Regions from separate parts of the Homo sapiens genome. Here region 1 is linked to region 2. Evidence: promoter capture Hi-C in human tissues and cell types (Jung and others, 2019). All regions are on one chromosome and are shown on one strand. The core of a region is centred on a gene start or on the middle of the fragment in contact, and the rest is flanking DNA. Distances in the headings are between cores, read along the strand shown.

Evidence for each region. The method cuts DNA at HindIII sites, captures the fragments that hold promoters and counts their contacts. A contact is called where the count stands out against the background at its distance.
Region 1: a contact is called between a fragment that was not itself captured here and the fragment with the promoter of ACO1 in region 2, in 7 of the 25 tissues and cell types used here (H1 embryonic stem cells, adrenal gland, heart right ventricle and 4 more).

What each region holds. Positions count from the first base shown.
Region 1 is chr9:32,507,459-32,511,575 of GRCh38, reverse strand. All of the region lies in intron 1 of RIGI (RNA sensor RIG-I), which reads left to right. Among named protein-coding and RNA genes, the nearest start is that of RIGI, 17 kb to the left of the region's middle. RefSeq lists enhancers at 2,061-2,777, 2,778-3,496. The HindIII fragment of the contact is 4,098 bases long and covers 364-4,117 here.
Region 2 is chr9:32,382,197-32,386,334 of GRCh38, reverse strand. ACO1 (aconitase 1) reads right to left here and starts at 1,692. Exons shown (of 21, transcript NM_002197.3): 1 at 1,600-1,692. RefSeq lists a silencer at 1,512-1,891. The HindIII fragment of the contact is 21,386 bases long and covers 1-4,138 here.

The sequences.
Region 1 (4,117 bases), core at 1,163-3,662, 120 kb before region 2:
AAATGTGTCCCAGAGATTCTGGTACGTTGTGTCTTTGTTCTCATTGGTTTCAAAGAACTTATTTATTTCTGCCTTCATTTCATATTTACCCTGTAGTCATTCAGGAGCAGGTTGTTCAGTTTCCATGTAGTTGTGCAGTTTTGAGTGAGTTTCTTAATCCTCAGTTCTAATTTGATTGCACTGTGTTCTGACAGACTGTTATGATTTCCGTTCTTTTGCATTTGCTGAGGAGTGTTTTATTTCCTATTATGTGGTCAATTTTAGAATAAGTATGATGTGGTGCTGAGAAGAATGTATATTCTATTCATCTGGGGTGGAGAGTTCTGTAGATGTCTACTAGGTCAGCTTTGTCCAGAGCTGAGTTCAAGTCCTGAATATTCTTGTTAATTTTCTGTTTTGTTGATCTATTATTGACAGTGGGGTGTTAAAGTCTCCCACTATTATTGTGTGGGAGTCTAAGTCTCTTTGTAGGTCTGTAAGAACTTGCTTTATGAATCTGGGTATTCCTGTATTGGGTGCATATGTATTTAGCATAGTTAGCTCTTCTTGTTGCATTGATCCCTTTACTATTATATAATGCCCTTCTTTCTCTTTTTTGATCTTTGTTGGTTTAAAATCTGTTTTATCAGAGACTGGGATTGCAACCCCTGCTTTTTTTTTTTCTTTCCATTTGCTTGGTAAATCTTCCTCCATCCCTGTATTTTGAGCCTATGTGTGTCTTTACATGTGAGATGGGTCTCCTGAATACAGCACACCAATGGGTCTTGACTCTTTATCCAATTTGCCAGTCTGTGTCTTTTAATTGGGGCATTTAGCCCATTCACACTTAAGGTTAATATTGTTATGTGTGAATTTGATCCTGTCATTATGATGCTAGCTGGTTATTTTGCCTGTTAGTTGATGCAGTTTCTTCATAGTGTCGATGGTCTTTACAATTTGGTATGTTTTTGCAGTGGCTGGTACCAGTTTTCCTTTCCATATTTAGTGCTTCCTTCAGGAGCTCTTGTAAGGCAGGCCTGGTGGTGACAAAATCTCTCAGCATTTGCTTGTCTGTAAAGGATTTTATTTCTTCTTTGCTTATAAATCTTAGTTTGGCTGTATATGAAATTCTGGGTTGAAAATTCTTGTCTTTAAGAATGTTGAATATTGGCCCCCACTCTCTTCTGGCTTGTAGGGTTTCTACAGAGAGATCTGCTGTTAGTCTGATGGGCTTCCCTTTGTGAGTAACTCAACCTTTCTCTCTGGCTGCACCTAACATTTTTCCTCCATTTCAACCTTGGTGAATCTGATGATTATGTGTCTTGGGGTTGTTCTTCTCGAGGAGTATCTTTGTGGTGTTCTCTGTATTTCCTGAATTTGAATGTTGGCCTGTATTGCTAGGTTGGGGACGTTCTCCTGGATAACATCCTGACGAGAGTTTTCCAACTTGGTTCCATTCTCCCCGTCACTTTCGGGTACACCAATCAAACATAGGTTTGGTCTTTTCACATAGTCCCATATTTCTTGGAAGCTTTGTTCATTCCTTTTCATTCTTTTTTTCTCTAATCTTGTCTTCATGCTTTATTTCATTAAATTCATCTTCAATCTCTGATATCCTTTCTTCTGCTTGATTGATTCAGCTATTGATAGTTGTGTATGCTTCACAAAGTTCTCGTGCTGTGTTTTTTGGCTACATCAGGTCATTCAGGTCCTTCTCTAAACTGGTTATTCTAGTTGTCACTCCTCTAACCTTTTTTCAAGGTTTGTAGCTTCCTTGCATTGGGTTAGAACATGCTCCTTTAGCTCAGAGGAGTTTCTTATTACCCACCTTCTGAAGCCTACTTCTGTCAATTTGTCAAACTCATTCTCCGTCCAGTTTTGTTCCGTTGCTGGCAAGGAGTTGTGATCCTTTGGAGGAGAAGAGGATCACATTTTTTTTCTGCCTTTTTGCACTGGCGTTTCCTCATCTTCATGGATTTATCTGCCCTTGGTCTTTCATGTTGGTGACCTTCAGATGAGTTATCTGTGTGGATGTCCTTTTCGTTGATATTGATGATATTCCTGTTTGTTAGTTTTCCTTCTAACAGGCCCCTCAGCTGCAGGTCTGCTGGAGTTTGCTGGATGTCCACTCCAGACCCTGTTTGCCTGGGTATCACCAGTGGAGGCTGCAGAACAGCAAAGATTGCTGCCTGTTCCTTCCTTTGGAAGCTTCCTCCCAGAGGGGCACCTGCCAGATGCCAGCTGGAGCTCTCCTGTATGAGGTGTCTGTTGACCCTGGTAGGAGGTGTCTCCCCACCAGGAGGCACAGGTATCAGGGACCCACTTAAGGAGGCAGTCTGTCCGTTAGCAGAGCTCAAGCACTGTGCTGGGAGATCTGTTGCTCTCTTCAGAGCCAGCAGGCAGCAACATTTAAGTCTGCTGAAGCTGTGCCCACAGCTGCCCTTTTCCCCAGGTGCCCTCTCCCAGGGAAATGGGAGTTTTATCTGTAAGCCCCTGAGTGGGGCTGCTGGCTTTTTTTCAGAGATGCCCTGCCTAGAGTGAGGAATCTAGAGAGGCAGTCTAGCTATAGTGGCTTTGCCAAGCTGCAGTAGGGTCTACCCAGTTTGAACTTCCTGGTGGCTTTGTTTACACTGTGAGGGGAATAGGGCCTACTCAAGCCTCAGTAATTGTGGATGCCCCTCCCCCAACCAAGCTTGAGCATCCCAGGTCAACTTCAGATTGTTGTGCTGGCAGCGAGAATTTCAAGCTAGTGGATTTTAGCTTGCTGGGCTCTGTAGGGGTGGGATTTGCTGTGCTAGACCACTTGGCTCCCTGGCTTCAGCCCCCTTTCCAGGAGAGTGAATGGTTCTGTCTTGCTGGCATTCCAGGTGTCACTGAGGTATGAAAAAAAAAACTGCAGCTAGCTCAGTGTCTGCCCAAATGGCCACCCAGATTTGTGCTTGAAACCCAGATCCCTGGTGGCATAGGCACCGGAGGGAATCTCCTGGTCTGCTGGTTGCGAAGACTTGGGGGGAAAAGCATAGTATCTGGGCCAGGGTGCACTGTTCCTCATGGCACAGTCCCTCATGGCTTCCCTTGGCTAGGGGAGGGAGTTCCCAGACCCCTTGTGCTTCCCAGGTGAGGTGACACCCTACCCTGCTTCAGCTCGCTGTCTGTGGGCTGCACCCACTGTCTATCCAGTCCCAGTGAGGTGAACCGGGTACCTCTGTTGGAAATGCAGAAATCACCCGCCTTCTGTGTTGATCTCTCTGTGAGCTGCAGACCGGAGCTGTTCCTTTTTTGGCCATCTTGCCCTGGTTCCTAGTCAAGCATTTTTTAAGAGAGGATTTTCATATAGTAAAAAAAAAAAAAAAAAAATTAAGTAAATACTTTGGTTTAAAATTTTAGATTGAGTCTGTTAGGAGCTAGGGAAAATTATGATAAATAAGAGTTAAATCCCTTGCCTCAAAAGGGGGAGACTTAAAATATTACCATTTTCCACTTGCTTCTGTAGTTTTAAAAAGCTATATGAATGGTTACAGATAATGATACCATTTAAATGAGGTTTTATATGTTTTGTTGTTCTTGAGAGGAGAAAAGAAACTAGTAATTTAAGCTAACCAGAAAATATAGGAAAGGGAAATATAAACAAGATAACACAAGGAAAACTAGTTATATCAGCTATGGCCATGTAATTAGGTCAAACATCTTTTAAATAGGTGTGAATGAGTCAGAAAGCAGAATCCAGGTTTTGGTCATCTGCCAGAGACCCATGTAAAGTCTAATAACATAAAAAATAAAAATGGGGGCCAGACTTGGCAGCTCATGCCTGTAATTCCAGCACTTTGGGAACCTGAGGTGGGAGGATTGCTTGAGCCCCGAAAATTGAGCCTATGGTGAGCTATGATCATGCTACTGTACTTCTGCTTGGGCAATGGAACAAGACCCTGTCTCATAAATAATAAATAAATAAAAAAGAGATAAAGAAGGGACAAATATATATTAAATAAATGCATACGTAAAGAAAGCAAGAATTATACTTAAATTGCACTAGTGGAAAGTATTAAGATAAAATGATAAAGGTATTGAGATATCAGTGAAGATTTGGTACACATAAATCTTTGTTTATTAAATATTAGAAAACGTCAAGAAATATGGG
Region 2 (4,138 bases), core at 443-2,942:
ATCATTATTCCAATAAACTCAAGGCTAATAACCATGCAACTGCAAACAGAAATGAACACGTGCAAGGGAAGGCAAAAGCATGCCTCCTTGTTCTTTTGGAAATAACTTCCTGACTACTTGGTAACTCTCACAGGAACCCCTACACACTTGGCATGGTCTCCCCACTGGCACTTTTGTGAGCCTACAGGTCCTGTTTGCCACATCACTGTTGTAATCCTGATGCACAGACAGGTCAGCTCTGCAAGCACAGAGACAACCAAAGGCATGTGCGAAGCCTTGCTGACTTTTCAGGAGGCTGGCAAGGTTCATCACAGCCTCACGTGGGGACCTAGTACATGGTTTCCAAAGTGAGATCAAACTTGGTTCCAGATACCAGAGGTTAATACTGTCCATGGCATGAGGTGGTGTGTGTTCCCAATCAGAGGAAGGATCACAAACAAGAAGCAGGCCCAATGAATGAAGCCTCTGAAGCATTTCCTACACCAGCATCCTCAAAGTGTGGTGCAGAGAACTCCTAGGGATCTCCAAAGTCAAAACCATTTTCCTAGTAATAAAATGTTACTTGCTTTTTTTCATTCACACATTTTCAGGAGTATACAGTGGAGGTCTCAAGAGGCTACATGATATGTGATATTGCAACAGACTGCAGAAGCAGCTATCAGAATCCAGCTGTCTTCAATTACGCTTGACATCAAAGAGATTTGCAAAAATGTAAAACAATGCCACTCTTCTCAATCATTTTCTGTTTTGGGAAATATAGTTCTTTTTCATAAAAATAGGCAATGTTAAGATATAATTAGTTCACTATTCTTTTTAAATGAATTATTATAGTACAAATTTCTCAGTCTTACTTACATATTATAAATATGGATAGATATAACACACATAAAAGCTCCTTAAGATACTAATTTTTAAGAGTGTAAAGGAGTACTGAGTACCAGAAAAGTTTGGGGACTTCTGTCCTAGAGGTTGTCCCCCAGGGAAGAGAGTTACATGTGTTGCAAGAAGGAAGATGCCATTATGATGTGCTAGCTGAATCTAGAAAAAAATGACTTGGTCATAACTGCAGCCCAAGCTCCTTTCTAGATCTCTGAATCTATCATGGTGGGCTCTGTGTTCAAGCCTCCCACGAAGGGTCTCTTCCCCCTCATCCCATTTTCCCTTTACCCCTTGGAGTGGATTCCCGGATCTGCCCGCACAACTTTAGCAAGGGTTTCCCTATCCAGCCAGCCGGGCCTGGGCGAGGACTCCCAGTGCGGGCCTCACACCCTCGGGGTTAGGACTCCCAGGACTGGCCGCACACCCTAGGCAAGGACTTTCAGGACAGCACGCACAGCCAAGGCTAAGAAGGGTCTAGGAAAGCCACTTCCAATCCCTGGTTTCTCTCCCCGGCATGACATAGACTGGGGACAGGGTGGAGACGTCAGTCGCCAGAAACACGTCCCCGATTCTCCTCTCAGCCTCCCCAAGCTCGCCTCCGTGTCCCCCGTGCCGCCACTGCCTCGGGCACCTCGGTAAAGGCCCGCACCGACTCTCGAGGGATACAGGGTGGACGGCGCTCCCGCCTGGGGACGTGGGTCGGGCCGCGTCGGTACTCACCTCCGACTGCACGGCGGGGCTCCCGCGACCGGCGAACCTGACCCAAGCAGCGGGACGCGTTCCCGTGCGCTGCGCGGTTCCAGCTGCCGCCTCCACGCTCCGCCCCCTCTCGCCCCCGGGGCCGCCGCGCGATGGGCGGAGCAGGGGCGGGAAGGGCGGAGCAGGGGCGGGACGGACGGGCAGCTAGCCGAAGAAGGGGCGGAGCCTGCGGGCGCCCCCGCGGGCCTGGAGGACTTCGCCCCGGGCTGGAGGCTAGGGTTGCGAAGGGCTCCTCCGCTGGAAGTGGGAGGGCTGATCCCTCGGCCCGGGTCCGCTTCTGCCAGCATGGGACCTGGGACGAGGGTGTCTGTTGCTCACTTTGGAGCTTAGCATGTGACTCCCCAGCCGGCGTTAGGAAGTGACCAAAGGGTGGGGAAGAAATGGAATTATTTTTAAAAAATGATTTGGCCATAACTGGAGAGGCTTCATGTACGTGTGGTCACTTGGCCCGCCTCCCTTCTCACTTTGTCCGTCCCCACCCTACCCACCCTCTCCACCCTCGCCTTAATTCTTTGCGCAAAGCCTGCCAAGTGGACATCGGAGTCACGCTGTCAGAATAGGACTTCAGCATTTCCGTGGCAAAAGTTCTATATGTAGATTTCCTTGGACATGTAACAACACTTTCTAATGCACGATGTTCACCGGTCTGAAGTCGGAGAAATGGCTGGGAGATGGCAGCAAGTGGGCTTTCACAAGATCTGCTTTTCATGTTGGTAGGAGTTGTGCCCTCTTGGGTGAATGGCGTTCAAAGAAGTGATTAGATCTTTCTAGATGAAAGGTGGTGAGGTTTTCCTGCCCAAATTATTTGGAAAGTTACTGTAGTTTTCTGAATAAGCAGCTTATAGGATGAGTAAACAATAGCCAGTACTAATAGCCCCCCTGCTACTTTATACTGCCCTCCTATTCTGCACAAAGCCCTGTGATCGACTCTTTCCACGTTATTCAGTTCAGCTCTTCCAACCACCTTACAAGTAAAGAATATTACCCGTCTTTGCAGGTGTGCAATGCGCAACAGCTGAGACTCAGTCCTTAGGTTGGTTTGACACCAAAGCCTACACCTTCCCTGTCATACTGCACTATAGGGTACAACTATCGTCTAGTTATATTTAACTTTGAAATATAAATACTTATATTTATTTTGAAAGGGGAAGTAACTGTATTTCCAATATGAGAGGAGACTGTTTTCCCACCCACTTCCTAAATCCTTTCCATTCACATTAGTAATTAAATTTTCTTTGAATGTCCACCATATGGCAGAGGTGCACCACAATCCCTGAAAAATCATGCTCCAGTCCCCTTGGGAGGTAGGGAGAGTAGGGGCAAGGTGAGAGTGAGTAGAAGGCTGGGGAAGTCCGATGAGGACACATCCAGCTAAATTGCGATTCTTAATGAGGCAGCCATTCGGAAAGCAAAGTATCTAATGTTCAATGATAACATCCGTGTAACTGAGAATCCTTCGCAGAAAACAATCAAATCAGAGCTATGAAGGGAATTGAGATTTATTAGTAAGCACGCTGGTCAAAACCGTGAAGGAAATAGTTCCACATCCCCCCAGTCTGTTGCTCTTGGACGTTGTCACCAGTGACGTGCAGATCGTGAATCCCAGGGCCTGTCCTCTGTTCCTGTCCTTACTCACTACTCTGTGGTATTTGACACTGGCGATTCGTTTTCCTAGAAATGTTAACCTCCTTTTGGCTTTTCAGCCCTCCGCTCTTAGGAGTCACCTCTTCCCTCTTTTGTCCCTCTTTTTTAAGGTCTTTCCCTACACTCTCTCCTCTTGCTTTATATGTTTCTCCATTTGCTGAGTTTTTCTTCATCTATTTTCTCAGTATGCAGACTGCCTGCCACTTCTAGCTGAAGCCTGCTATGTCTCTGTCATTGGTCTTAGTTAACTTTCTGACCTTCACACTCTTGATTTGCAGCCATATGTGGCAACCCCACCTGGATATTCCAAAGGTGTCTGTATTAGACCGTTCTCACGCTGCTGTAAAGAACCCTGAGACTGGGTAATTCATAGGGAAGGAGGTTTAATTGGCTCACAGTTCTGCATGCTGGGGAGGCTTCAGGAAGCTTACAATTATGGCAGAAGGGGAAGCAGGTATGTCTTACCTGGCAGCAGGCAAGAGAGTGTCCTCTGAATGCACAGTGGTCCTCCTGAATGCTTTGAGGGGACCTTAGAATCCCTAAATTTTTCACTGAATATATGTCTTCATACCAGAGAAAATTTGAAATAAACGTTTTGTTCCTCTTTAAGAAAAAAAGAGTTAAATTCATAACAAGGAGAGGCAGGTCTTAGCCTCATCTTGGCTCCCGGTAAATATCCAACGGCTCTCCCCTGATGCCCTCTTCCCACCACACCTGCTATACGTTTAATTTTCGTGCTCTCTTAATTACTGCCTAAGGGCCTGATCCCTGAGCTGCCTTCCCAGGGAACAAGAATCCTCTGGGCAGCTGCTTACAGTTTCTCTCAGTATAGCTAATAATAAAAATCATCCCCATG